Linked DNA regions of Homo sapiens: all the other regions are linked to region 3. Evidence: promoter capture Hi-C in 16 types of primary human blood cells and fetal thymus (Javierre and others, 2016). All regions are on one chromosome and are shown on one strand. The core of a region is centred on a gene start or on the middle of the fragment in contact, and the rest is flanking DNA. Distances in the headings are between cores, read along the strand shown. Region 1 overlaps GTSF1 (gametocyte specific factor 1). Region 2 overlaps GPR84-AS1 (GPR84, ZNF385A, ITGA5 and GTSF1 antisense RNA 1). Region 3 holds the start of SCAT2 (S-phase cancer associated transcript 2). Region 4 overlaps GPR84-AS1 (GPR84, ZNF385A, ITGA5 and GTSF1 antisense RNA 1).

What was found. The method cuts DNA at HindIII sites, captures the fragments that hold promoters and counts their contacts. A CHiCAGO score of 5 or more calls a contact.
Region 1: a fragment that was not itself captured here is called in contact with the fragment with the promoter of SCAT2 in region 3 in 1 of 17 cell types (monocytes); the score reaches 6.0 in monocytes.
Region 2: a contact is called between a fragment that was not itself captured here and the fragment with the promoter of SCAT2 in region 3, in 1 of 17 cell types (neutrophils). The highest score is 5.1, in neutrophils.
Region 4: a contact is called between a fragment that was not itself captured here and the fragment with the promoter of SCAT2 in region 3, in 2 of 17 cell types (neutrophils and monocytes). The highest score is 7.4, in neutrophils.

The regions. Positions count from the first base shown.
Region 1 is chr12:54,464,371-54,467,836 of GRCh38, reverse strand. It overlaps GTSF1 (gametocyte specific factor 1), which reads left to right. Exons shown (of 9, transcript NM_144594.3): 3 at 2,670-2,770. It overlaps GPR84-AS1 (GPR84, ZNF385A, ITGA5 and GTSF1 antisense RNA 1), which reads right to left. Exons shown (of 4, transcript NR_120487.1): 4 at 807-996. Among named protein-coding and RNA genes, the nearest start is that of GTSF1, 7.5 kb to the left of the region's middle. The HindIII fragment of the contact is 515 bases long and covers 1,533-2,047 here.
Region 2 is chr12:54,429,489-54,433,156 of GRCh38, reverse strand. The region is part of intron 3 of GPR84-AS1 (GPR84, ZNF385A, ITGA5 and GTSF1 antisense RNA 1); the gene reads right to left. Among named protein-coding and RNA genes, the nearest start is that of ITGA5, 12 kb to the right of the region's middle. The HindIII fragment of the contact is 5,263 bases long and covers 1-3,668 here.
Region 3 is chr12:54,260,789-54,263,942 of GRCh38, reverse strand. It overlaps SCAT2 (S-phase cancer associated transcript 2), which reads right to left and starts at 1,328. Exons shown (of 2, transcript NR_157844.1): 1 at 1,006-1,328. All of the region lies in intron 1 of CBX5 (chromobox 5), which reads left to right. The HindIII fragment of the contact is 3,994 bases long and covers 1-3,154 here.
Region 4 is chr12:54,447,151-54,450,337 of GRCh38, reverse strand. All of the region lies in intron 3 of GPR84-AS1 (GPR84, ZNF385A, ITGA5 and GTSF1 antisense RNA 1), which reads right to left. Among named protein-coding and RNA genes, the nearest start is that of GTSF1, 25 kb to the left of the region's middle. RefSeq lists a silencer at 1,697-1,897. The HindIII fragment of the contact is 3,557 bases long and covers 1-3,179 here.

The DNA.
Region 1 (3,466 bases), core at 541-3,040, 200 kb before region 3:
CGCCATTGCACTCCAGCCTGAGCAACAAGAACGAAACTCCATCTCAAAAAAAAAAACAAATCTGGAAACAATGTAAATGTCCATTAATAAGAAAATCAAAAATTTGATACATCCATATGCAGCAGTGAAATATTTCTTATATGTAGTGACTTGGAAGGAACTCCAAGATACATTAAGTGAAAAGAAAAAAAAGCAAATTGCAAGACAGAAGATAAAGGAAATGGCCGAATGTGGTGGCTCACACCTGTAATCCCAGCACTTGGGGAGGCCGAGGCAGGTGGATCACCTGAGGTCAGGAGTTCAAGACCAACCTGACCAACATGATGAAACCCCGTCTCTACTAAAAATACAAAAATTAGCTGAGCTTGGTGGTGGATGCCTGTAATCCCAGCTACTCAAGAGTCTGAGGCAGGAGAACCACATGAACCCAGGCGGTGGAGGTTGCAGTGAGCCAAGATCGTGCAACTGCACTCCAGCCTGGATAACAGTGAGACTCCGTCTCAAAAAAAAAAAACAAAAAACAAAAAAAACACACAGGAAATTCTGTCACATGTTATAACACGGATAAACCTTGAGGACCTTAGGCTAAGTGAAATAGGCTAGTCACAAAAAGCAAAAGACTGTGATTTCACATATATGATGTATCTAGTCAGACTCACCAAAACAAAAAGTAATGGTGGTTGCCAGGAGCTGGGGGCAGTGGGGAATGGAGAGCTGATGGTTAATGGGTATAGAGTTTCAGTTTAGTAAAACAAAAAACTTTTGGAGACTAGTTGCACAACAATAAGGAATATATTAATGCTTAACACTACTGAACTGTATACTTAAAATTCATTAACATGGTAAATTTTATATGTGTTTTTAATCACAGTTAAAGATTTTTGTCCCAGCTACTCCGGGGGCTGAGGCACAAGAATCGCTCGAACTCGGGAGGTGAAGGTTGCAGTGGGCCGAGATCGCGCCACTTCACTCCAGCCTGGGCAACAGAATAAGACTCTGTCAAAAAAAAAAAAAAAAAAAGATTTTTAAATCAAAAAAATTTTTTTAATCTAGAAAGCCAGGTTAAAGTTGACCTAAAGTGCTGGAGACCAGGAAGTAAAGCATTACAATGAGAAGCTCTCATTATCAACTCTGACATATGCTACTATATGGGCAGTATAATATATATGAATCATAAGGTACCATCCAGTCTATCAGCTGCTGACATGGCCTAACATTTGCTAGTGATGGGAATGGATTAAATCAGGGGAAACTAACAAGAATTTCATCTGTAAATTCTCCCTGGTTGTCCTGAAGCTTCGGAAATATGAAACATTGCTGGTCAAGAAGAGCCTGGTTAGCATAATAAGCCTGCCTGTCCTTTAAGACTTTTCCTTCCTATTCATTCTGTCCTTCAAGTCACCTTTCTGGCTCATTTGCATCACGATCATGGTTGGCAATTTATTCCATGTTTACCACTCTTCCAGTGAAACTGTCTGTTTCAATTCCCCACTGGCTTCTGATTTTCCTAGCAGTCTCCTGGTTTATAAGCTTCTTATCAAATGTGAATTGTTTATCTTATTTCACTTTTATCATTGCCTTCAGGGGTGGCAAGAGCAATTTATTAGGTTGCCTCTTGTCTTCATAATATACCAGAATGTGCTTAACCATTTAATTTCCCTTCCTTAACCAGGCTTGTTAAAATTTGGGGCACAGCCTGGTCATCTTGTATAGCCTAAGGGTTGTTTTAAATAGCATTTTATAGGTTAGGGGCTTTCTTTCACACAGCAGTTCCATATGTCTGCAGTTGTCTTAACCTCAGAAGGTTCTGTTTTTGCACATTGTTCCTATTTTTTTAGCTGGCTAATGTAGTAGTCACTAGATTAAAGAATTCTCTGTTTTGTTCTCACATGTGTTCCAAAATATGAAAAGTAAAAACTACCTGTCTGATAACAGTATTGGTTTCATTTGAGAGGTAATTAGAGTAACCAAGATTAGGAACTACTTATAGGAGTAAGTTAAAGTAGACAGATGAAAAAGAAATCTATCCACTAATATTTTTCAAGCTTCCATAAAACATATAACTGATATAGGGCAGTGCTTACCAACTTTTTTCATGTCACAGGATACTAGTAATAGATGAAGATGCTATTACTAGTATCTTCATCTAGATACTAGTAATAGCAAGTATTACTATTACTTGCTATTACTACCCCCAACTTGCCTGTGGAAATGGGGGGTAGGGGATGACTTGAACTAGTTGTGGGCCCCCAAATCAGTGTATTAGCACACTAGAAATCCATTTCAACTGCAGCATACTGGTTGGGAGGCTCTGGATAGACTAGCTAGAGAATAGGAATAACCCTGAATTAGCACTTTTAGAAAAGGAAAAGAGGATGACATTTTATTTAACTTTTTGTTTTATAATAAGAGTAACCAGCAACAAAAACAATATGTTCAGTTCAATATGAAACTGAGACTTCACCCTGAGATTTCTGGTTCTGCTGAACTTACTAAGATTCAGAAATATTTTAAAAGTGTAGTCACCCTTTTTTTTTAATCCAAGTTTTCTTTAGACTATATTGTTCTATTATTACAGAGTCTCTTGAAAAAATCCAGTGTGCCTGGAATGCTGTAGTTTTACAAGGGCCTATTATCGTTTTACCTACTGAAACACTTCTGTCTTTCAGCCGACTCCCTGGACCCTGAGAAGCTATTGCAATGCCCCTATGACAAAAACCATCAAATCAGGGCTTGCAGGTTTCCTTATCATCTTATCAAGTGCAGAAAGGTAGGGTCATAATTTGCCCTCTAACACCCTCCTGAGTTCTTTTAAAAGGCCATATTTTATAAATATCAAATAATTTTATCATGTTTTAATTGATTGCCAGAATTGTTTTGGGAATCTACCTCTCTTAAATACCAACATTTATAGAAAGGCATTTGTTCATTCCTTAGGATAAATTTTTTCTTGTTTTGGTTTTCTTCCCATTAACTAGTGACAAAGAACCCTTTATAAACAGCATCTCTAGAGTCTTCTCACCCTTTGTAAAACAGACTAATTTTGGCTAACAATGAGAAATCCTGCCTATCTTCTAAATTTGATGTATTCATGAGCCTAACAATGATTGAGTGCTATAACTCACTTTTTCTGATTATTTTGTTTAGAAATTTTAGAGCTTGAACAGCTAGAAGTTAGCCCAAGAAAAATTATTCCTAAAAATAACTGTATCTCCAAGTTTCAACAGTAAACATCTTTAAAAAAATAATAAATAACGATTTTTTTTCTGGTCACTCTTGTATAGACTTAGCTGATATAAACTACTTTCATGCTACCTTAAATGAGACATTTTGACAATGTTGTTAGAATTCTGATACAGAAGCCAAAATTCTGCTAGAATTTATGCTTGGGAAACAATTGAGGTATTTAATCCAAACTGCATACAATTCAGCTTTAACATCCTTTAAAAAGTGCTTGTAATCCTGG
Region 2 (3,668 bases), core at 843-3,342, 170 kb before region 3:
TGCCCCGAAATGAGCATTGAGTGGGAAGCTAACCAGAGGGAAAAATAGGAGCTGCTGTTAGGGTCAGACAGGATCCAGCAGCCTGCAGCCTGGACCCAAGCGTGCGGAAAAGGCCATTGTCTGAGTGGCTTTCTGGATTTCCTGCCCTCAAACACCTACCCCGCCCAACATGCACACTCAATCTCTTGCCTCCTGCTCTGCCATCACTGTGATTAGCAGGCACTGCCCACCAAGAGGACAACAGACCACTGAGGTTCTCCTAAAGTGAGAAGGGAAATCACCCAGACCCATCCCCAGTGGGGAAAGGCAAAAAGATGACACAGAACAGGGCTTTAAGATTACTAGAGAAAAGTGTTTCCAGATCTTAATGAAGATCCAGGATCCTCCTTATCTCTCAACCCGCACTCATTTCTCCTAGGTCTACTCATCCAGGAGACGTAGAGTTTTCTGGCACAAGTGAGCAACAGCTGGATGGGGGTGGGGGGTGTGTCTATGTAGGTGTCTGTGCCTCCAGGCACGTCCCAGTGGTTTTTATGTGTGGGAGAGGAGAATTCAGCAAACAGGGTGTGGTTGTGGGTGTGTCTCACGTGGGATGAGGTATCTACAGAGCAGTTCTGTTGAGATCCTTGGGCTCCCTGCTCTACCAGCCCTGGCATTGAGTCCATTTCATGACCCTGATGAGACCAGATTCCCAGCTGATGACGCCCATTCCCAATCACCAGCTTCCAGCTCTTTGGCCCCTCCCCCATCCACACGCTTACTCCTCTGGCAGGCTAGCTGGGCTTTTGGCTGGGAACTGAGCTCAAAGCGGAAACAGGCAGTTGGAAGGTGTGATTTATGTCTCTGACTTCACCCCAGGCTGGAGCCCAAACACTTGGACCCTCTCCGCAAGTACCCGTCTGGCAAATTATCTCCTCCCCCTCAAAATCTCAGGCTCTTCTAGCTGGTCAGAGGTCTTCCAGGCAAGCCCATCCTCACTACCATCCCCCCTCTCCACTAACACTACCACTCACACCTCTAACTCCTGCTGATTACAGTGATAGAAGAATTAACTTCACTATTACCCACAGGAGGCAGGATTCTCCTATCAGCCCCAAACAATAGATAAATCCCTCCATATATCTAATTTCCTTCTCTCCTGCTGCTGACCAGCAGTTGGTAGAAACAAAGGGGAGCTAACTCACTCAGAATTCTGCCTCTGGCCTGTCAAGGTCTCTTTGCAGATTTAAGGTAATCCTCAATCCTGTGATTGTTTCTATCTCTAGAGACTTCTTAGAAACATTCTCAAAGACACCAGAGTGCCATTTTCTTGCTCCTGATCAGTAACTTGATGCATATCTTTATCTGCCATTCATCAAGATCTGGAAAGCACACTCCACCCCCCACAATCTGGAAGCCTAGAGTCAGAAAAGATCTTGCTAGGAAGTGAGAATCCTCTAACTCCTTGCAGGGGCTCCCACCATTACCACTTAGAAAATTCTACTAGAAATCTAGTTTCATCTTTTCCCACTTTCAAAGATTCCTCATCAGTCAAATGCCCTTGTTAACTTTAGAGGGCAGTTGAGGAGGATTAAATGAAGAAATCAATTTGAAAGATATAAAATGCTGCTTCATAGTATTATTTTGAGGTTAAATGAGGTCGCATATGTAAAATGCTTAGATCTATACCTGGTACTTGATAACTATTAGCTGTTTTTTCCTGTAATACCTCAAAAATTGGGGAGGGACCTGGGAGTTTGCCCTTCCTAGACATCCAGAGCCCATGGGCTCATTATAACCTTGTTGAATGGGAAGCTCAGATTCCTAGGTTTTAGTTTCTTTTTTTTTCTTCTTCTTCTTTTTTTTTTTTGAGACGGAGTCTCGCTCTGTCACCCAGGCTGGAATGCAGTGGTGCAATCTCGGCTCACTGCAACCTGTGCCTCCTGGGTTCAAGTGATTCTCTGCCTCAGGCTCCCGAGTAGCTGGGATTACAGGCGCGCGCCACCACACCCAGCTGATTTTTGTATTTTTAGTAGAGACGGGGTTTCACCATGTTGGCCAGGCTGGTCTTGTACTCCTGACCTCGTGATCCACCCGCCTCAGCCTCCCAAAGTGCTGGGATTACAGGTGTGAACCACCGCGCCCGGCCCCTAGGTTTTAGTTTCTGAAGGTACATGGTTGCATGAATGAATGAGTCCATGCTCCATTCAGTTTTCTGGGGTCTGGTCTCTCCTTTCCTGGCTTCCTTCCCATCACCCCCTACAGAGCCTTTCCCCTAGATCACTGAGCTCATCCTGGTTACCAATTATTTGTTTATTCCTGGCCCCCACACAAGGACTCCAGCCGCAACCCTGGTTTTCCCCTGAGTTCCTGTATGAGAATCTGAATGTGTTGGGGTAAGATGGAACCTCAAGGATCACCTAGCCCAATTCCTTTGATTTAGGAAAGACAAAATTGGGAGCCAAAGAAGGGCAGACTTGCTCTAGTTGGAACTTCCAAGTCAAGTACCTGGATCCAGCCCAGGGAGTCCCTGTGTGCTTTCAAGGGTAAAAGAATTCTCATCCCCTTCTTCCTTTCTCTCTCTCAGTGAGTAGAATAAATCACTATTTTTAACTGCCTAAAACATGAGCAAAAGCTGGAGAAACGCTCAAGGAAGTCCTTCTACATACAGGCTTACTGGCTTCTTCCATATTTTCCTGGGTCTTCTCTAATTCTTATTTCTGCCCCTTCTTGCATTCCTCCCTTCCTCCACCTCCAGTCACACTTAGATGGCTTCTATGCTAACCTGTATGTCACTTGCATATCATTCAACAATAGATCAATAGATTTGGGGTTTTTTTGTTTTTTGTTTTGTTTTTTTGAGACAGAGTCTTACTCTTTCGCCCAGGCTAGAGTGCAGTGGCATGATCTTGGCTCACGGCAACCTCTCCCTCCCAGGTTCAAGCAATTCTTGTGCCTCAGCCTCCTTAAGCGGCTGGGATTACAGGCATGTGCCACCATGCCCAGCTAATTTTTTGTATTTTAGTAGAGACGAGGTTTCACCATGTCGCCCAGGCTGGTCTCAAACTCCTGATATCAGGCAATCCGCCCGCCTTGGCCTCCAAAAGTGCTGGGATTACAGGCGTGAGCCACCACGCCCTGCCTAGATTTGTTTTTAAAAAATGAATTTGTTGCTGAGTGCAGTGGCTCATTCCTGTAATCCCAACACTTTAGGAGGCCAAGGCAGGAGGATCACTTGAGCCGAGGAGTTCGAGACCAGCCTGGGCAAACATAGTGAGACCCCGTTCCTACAAACAATTAGTTTAAAAAGAAAAAGAAGAATGGGTCAATGGCTTTCTTTGAAAGTGTTTAGTCTGAATCCAACACCTAGGTCCAAAGTGGGGTACACTTGACCAGCAGCTTCTGTGAGCATGACCACCCCATATAAAGGCATTCCTTTTGCCTTTGCCAGTGAGGCTCAAGCATTCCAAAGATAAACGTAGTGGGCTGGTCTTTCCTAAAGTAAAGCTAGATTGCTTGGGTTTGAATCCCAGCTCTTCTGCTTACCTTGGGCAAGTCTGTGCCTCAGTTTCCTCATCTTATAAAATAGGTCAATAGTACCTCCCTGATAAAGGGGCAGTGCCAATTAAATAAGTTAATTCATATAAAGCTCTTAGAACACATACTATATAGCATAAAGCATAAGCTAT
Region 3 (3,154 bases), core at 79-2,578:
GCCTCCCCAGTAGCTGGGACTACAGGCTCCCGCCACCACATCTGGCTAATTTTTTGTATTTTTAGTAGAGACAGGGTTTCACCATGTTAGCCAGGATGGTCTCAATCTCCTGACCTCGTGAGCCACTGCGCCTGGCCTTTTTTTTTCTTTTTTCTTTTCTTTTTTTTTTTTTTTTTTTTTGAGATAGAGTCTTACCCTGTTGCCCAGGCTGGAGTGCAGTGGCGCGATCTCAGCTCACTGCAACCTCCGCCTCCCGTTTAAGCGATTCTCCTGCCTCACCCTCCTGAGTAGCTGGGATTACAGGTGCGTAACTGCCTCAGCCTCCCGAGTAGCTGGGATTACACCACGCCTGACTAATTTTTTTGTGTCTTTAGTAGAGACGGGGTTTCACCATGTTGGCCAGGCTGGTCTCAAACTCCTGACCTCATGATCCACCTGCCTTGGCTTCCCAAAGTGCTGGGATTACAGGCGAGAGCCGCTGTGCCGGCCTACCTCTTGTTTTTCTGGGTTGCCCTAGCTTGCTTGTGATGCCCTCTCTGTAATTGCTGAGGACTGATAAGTTTTTTGTTTGGTTTTTTTTTGAGACGGAGTTTTGCCCTTGTTGTCCAGGCTGGAGTGCAATGGCTTGATCTCGGCTCACTGCAACCTCCATCTTCTGGGTTCAAGTGATTCTCCTGCCTCAGCCTCCCAAGTAGCTGAGATAACAGGTGCCTGCCACCACACCTGGCTAATTTTTGTATTTTTAGTAGAGACAGGGTTTCACCATGTTGGCCAGGTTGGTCTGGAACTCCTGACCTCAGGAGATCTGCCCGCCTCGGCCTACCAAAGTGCTGGGATTACAGGCGTGAGCCACCGCGCCCAGCCTCTTTTCTCATCTCAATGGGCCTTAGGTGCTGTAATCTATAGTTATTGGTAGCTTTACCAGATAGTTCCTATGTATATTTAAGAGAGAAGGCTGAGAGCTGTTATGCCTGAAAGACTCCAGAAATTTGAGAAGCTACTCACCCTTTCCCTTGGAGATTTCCACAAGGATAAGGTTGTGTTCAGAGGCTCATCTTCTTTTCCTCTGTCATGGTATTGGGATTCTATCTTAATCACTCCATCATCCTGCCAGCCATGTCTCATTTCTCATGCTGGAAAGCTCCCTCCTCCTAAGCTCAGTGTGAACCACCAGTCTTGATGCTTTATCTGGTCTAGGCTCTAGCCCTTAAATTGTTTGACTGGCTTTGTGTTTCATTTGACCCTAATACTCCGGGTCACACTGTCTAAAAGAGAATTATGTCCCCTCCGATGTCTGAGTGCATTTCTCATTTCTTACTGCTGCTCCTGAGCAGATCTGTAACTTCAAGGTTAAGATAAGACACATTCCATCAGAACTATGTCGTCATCCTTGCCAGCTTCTGATCTGTGACTGTCTAGGAGATTTACAAGACAATTGCATGCCATCCTTTAAAGAATATTATGGTTGTACTCTGACTCCTGGCATCAGGCCCAATTCGATTTGTCAGTGGTTACAAAACCCATTTCCCAAAAAGAAAAGGACCTCGGCCCATGTGCCCTTTAGGCAGTTCTTAAGGGTGGAAAGGAGGGAATTGAACTCAATCTTTATTTTCTGATGTTTTGTGGGGAGGGGTGGACACCAGAATATTTTTGTCTCTTTCCTCATTAAATTCACTTTTCTTTCTCTGAAAGGTTTCACCAAAATGTTAGTATTGCTGTCATTCTCTCCTGTTCCTTATTCCTTCACAGAGTTACTATTAGTCTTTTCATTCTGCCATCTTTAAAGTTTGTCTGAGTTTTAAGGAATAAGTATTTTGCCCTTGAGAGAGAACGTACCTACCCTGTTCTCTGAAGGTTTATTCGTTTTCCAGTGCCTAGTTAACAAAGACACTGTTCCTCTTTTTCTTGCTATCTACTAATGTGTTGAGCTGCAGGAGTTACTGCATGTGATATGGTTTACTAGCTTAGGAATTTGGAAGGTCACATATTTTCTTCTGCTGTTGTATTCAGCCCTGACATATTTTTACAGAAGGTTCTTTTTGGGGGACTTAATAGATCTTTGGTTTCAACATAAACTCACTTTTTCCCTCGGAGGTACGTAGGGCAGGTAGTACAGATTTATTTAGCCCGTTTAAATGATGCCGGGGTTAGATGGAAAATTTATTTACTCAGGATAACACATGGCAAGTTAATCAGAGTCAGGATCCTATTTAAATGTTTGTTATTGTTTTTATATCCCTTAATTATGAAAAGTTAAAAGGTAAGAGTTGAAAAATGCCGTTTTTAATTGGAGGTTTGCTGATGGTCCATTCAAATCTGAGGAAATCTTTTGTAATTAAAAAATTTCTGGCCGGGTGCAGTGTCTCATGCCTGTAATCCCAGCACTTTGGGAGGCCCAGGTGGGCGGATCACAAGATGAGGAAATCGAGACCATCCTGGCCAACATGATGAAACCCCATCTCTGCTAAAAATACAAAAATTAGCTGGGCGTGGTGGCACATGCCTGTAATCCCAGCTACTTGGGAGGCTGAGGCAGGAGAATCCCTTGAACCAGGGAGTTGGAGGTTGCAGTAAGCCGAGATGGCGCCACAGCACTCTAGCCTGGTGACAGAGCGAGACTCCGTCTCAAAAAAAAAAAAGAAAAAAGAAAAAAATTTCTACTTTGGTCTTACACCCTATGGTTTCTTCTGTTTGACAGTCGTAATAGTCACCATTGTGCTTCTTCTCAACTGAGTTCTTTTTTTTTTTTTTTTGAGACGGTTTCGCTCTTGTTGCTCAGGCTGGAGTGCAGTGGCGCAGTCTCGGCTCACTGCAACCTCTGCCTCCCAGGTTCAAGCGATTCTCCTGCCTTAGCCTCCCAAGTAGCTGGGATTACAGGCAAGTGCTACTATGTCTGGCTAATTTTTGCATTTTTAGTAGAGATGGGGCGTCACCATGTTGGTCAGGCTGGTCTCGAACTCCTGACCTCAGGTAATCCACCTGCCTCGGCTTCCCAAAGTGCTGGGATTACAGGTGTGAGCCACTGTTCCTGGCTCAACTGAGTTCTTTGCTTTTGATTGTCCCTTTTTCTTACTCTCCTATGGCAGCCACTTCTGGCTTTAAAGTTCCCACATCTATAAAGCAGAGTAGAGTTTTGGAGCTCTCTAAAATGTTC
Region 4 (3,187 bases), core at 152-2,651, 190 kb before region 3:
AGTAGTGAGCTATGACCATAACCTGGGACTTCAGATTTCTAATTTACTGCTTTTATACGATTCTTCCCTAAATATTGATTCTACACTCAACTTCTCATTCTCTCAGGCTATGAGTTTCCTCCTGAACTCATTTCCACATCTGCCAGTTTAGACTCCATGATCCAGTACTTCAGTAGCCTAAACCAGCATCCTTAACCCCCGCTATTGTTCTGTCTCTGCTTTACCAATTCCCAAGTTGAGAGAAGCCCACCATCTTTTACTCTATTCCTGCTAGGTTATCAAGCATAGTTACAGAAAATCATATAACTATGCCACCTAACTCCACTGCAGATACAGATTTCTAAACTCGGGCACTCATTCCTGTTTGACTTTCAGATTTACCTGGTGGCCGTTGCAGCCCTTTTACTATTCTCAACTTCGTAGTCCCTACTTTCCATCCTCCACTATCAGGAGATGACATTGACTTTACCTCCAACTTTTTTGAACTCCTGGGCTCAAGCCATCCTCCCAAGTAGCTAGAGCTACAGGTGTGTGCCACCATACTCAGCTACTTTTTAAAAAGAATTTTTAGAGATGTGGTCTTAGTATATTGCCCAGGCTAGTCTCAAACTCCTGACCTCAAATGATCCTCAACCTCAGCCTCCCAAAGTACTGGGATTACAGGCATGAGCCACCACACCTGGTCTTGATTTCCTTGAGAAGGTACTGGTCATTGACCTTAACTTACTCTTTAACTCTTATAGCACCTCTTTTTCCTTTATCTCAGTATACTTCTGGCTGGGCACGGTTGCTCACGACTGTAATCCTAGCACTTTGGGAGGCCAAGGCAGGCGGATCACTTGAGGTCAGGAGTTCGAGACCAGCCTGGCCAACATAGTGAGACCCCCATCTCTACTAAAAATACAAAAAATTAGCTAGGCGTGGTGGTGCATGCCTGTAATCCCAGCTATTTGGGAGGTTGAGGCAGGAGAATCGCTTGAACCTGGAAGGCAGAGGTTGCAGTGAGCCAAGATGGTGCCACTGCACTGCAGCCTGGGCAACAGAGCAAGACTGTCTCAAAAAAAAAAAAAAGTATACTTCCTCTACAAGGCTAACTTTGTCTGTGAACTTTGTACTGCATCACATTGTATTATCTATTGCTACATAACCAATTTCCCCAAAACATAGTGTATTAAAACAATAATAAACATTACTCTCATAATGTCTGTGGATAAGGAATTTGGGAGTTACTTAGCTGAGTAATCCTGGTTTGGGGTCTTTCATGTAGATGCAGTCAAGAGTCAGCCAGGGCTGGGCACAGTGGCTCACACCTGTAATCGCGCATCCCAGCACTTTGGGAGGCCAAAGTGGGCAGATCACTTGAGGTCAGGAGTTTGAGACTAGCCTGGCCAACATGGTGAGACCCTGTCTCTACTAAAAATACAAAAACTGGCCAGGGATAGTGGCATGCACCTGTAATCCCAGCCACTTGGGAGGCTGAGGCAGAAGAATTGCTTGAACCCAGGAGGTGGAGGTTGCAGTGAGCTGAGATCGTACCACTGCACTCCAGCCTGGGCGACAGAGCGAGACTCTGTCTAAAAAAAAACAGAAAGAGTCAGCCAGGGCTGCCATTTCTGAAGACTTGACTGAGGTGGGACGATTTGCTTCTTAAGTGGCTCACTTACATGCCTGGCAATTCAAGGCCTCAGTTGCTCCCCATGCGGGACTCTACAAAGCCTGCGAGTATCCTTACAACATGTCAACTGACTTCCCCCATGGTGGGCAATTTAAGAGCAAGGTGGAAGCTGTAAATTATTTTATGACCTAACTTCAGAAGTCACGCTACATCATTTCACAATATGCTTTTGGTTACACTGGTGAGCCCTTTTCATTGTGGGAGGGGACTTTACAGGAACATGAATGCCAGGAGGCAAGAATCAATGGGGGGCTGTCTTGAAGGCAGTCTACTACACTGAGCTTCTCCTATCCTCCAATATCTTCCATAAGTCAATTCCTCTCTCCTCTTTAGCTTTTTTTTCTTTGAGATAGGGCCACACTCTGTCACCCAGGCTGGAGTGTAGGGGTGCTATCATACTTCATTGCAACCTCAAACTCCTGGGCTCAAGCAATCTTCCCACCTTCCATGACTGGTCTTTCTTTCTTTTTTTTTTTTCTTTTTTTTTTTTGGTAGAGATGGGATCTCACTATGTTGCCCAGGCTGGTCTCAAACTCCTGGCCTCACGTGATCCTCCCATCTCAGCCTCCCAGAGTGTTGGGATTACAGGTGTGAGCCACCATACCCAACCCTCTTCTCTTTAAATTAACTCTACTCTTTCCTTAACTCTTTCAGCTATGAAAATGTTTATGTTTATTTTTTAAAATATATACCCTGTTCTCCATATTAATCAGGGTTTGGTTGCAGAGAACAGAATCGATTCTAGCTAGATTAAGCAGTAAAGGACTTATTACTAGGGCATCAAATGGATGGATCACAGAATTCTGGGGAAGGCTGAAGAAACAAACTCTAGACTGGACTTCCAGAAATGATTCCTAAAGACTGCTAAGGGAGGCCAGTCGTGGTGGCTCACACCTGTAATACCAGCACTTTGGGAGGCCAAGGTGGGCAAATTGCTTGAGCCCAGGAGTTGGAGACCAACCTGGGCAACATAGTGAAACCCTGTCTCCACTAAAAATACAAAAATTAGCTGGGGTATGGTGGCATGCGCCTGCAGTCCCAGCTACTCAAGAGGCTGAAATGGAAGGATTGCCTGAGCTCAGGAAACGGAGGTTTCAGTAAACCGAGATCTTACTACTGCACTCCAGCCTGGGTGAGAGAGTGAGATCCTGCCTCAAAAAAGAAACTGCTAATCAGGCCGGGCACGGTGGCTCACACCTGTAATCCCAGCACTTTGGGAGGCCGAGGCAAGTGGATCACCTGAGGTCAGGAGTTCAAGACCAGCCTGACCAACACGGTGAAGCCCCGTCTCTACGAAAAATACACAAAAATTATCCAGGCGTGGTGGTGGGTGCCTGTAATCCCAGCTACTCAGGAGGCTGAGACATGAGAATTGCTTGAACCCAGGAGGTAGAGGTTGCAGTGAGCTGCACTCCAGCCTGGACAACAGAGTGAAACTCCGTCTCAAAAAAAAAAAAAAGACTGCTAAAGGAGCTGCTACCGCTTCTACTATATTTAGGAAGCTTCTACTAC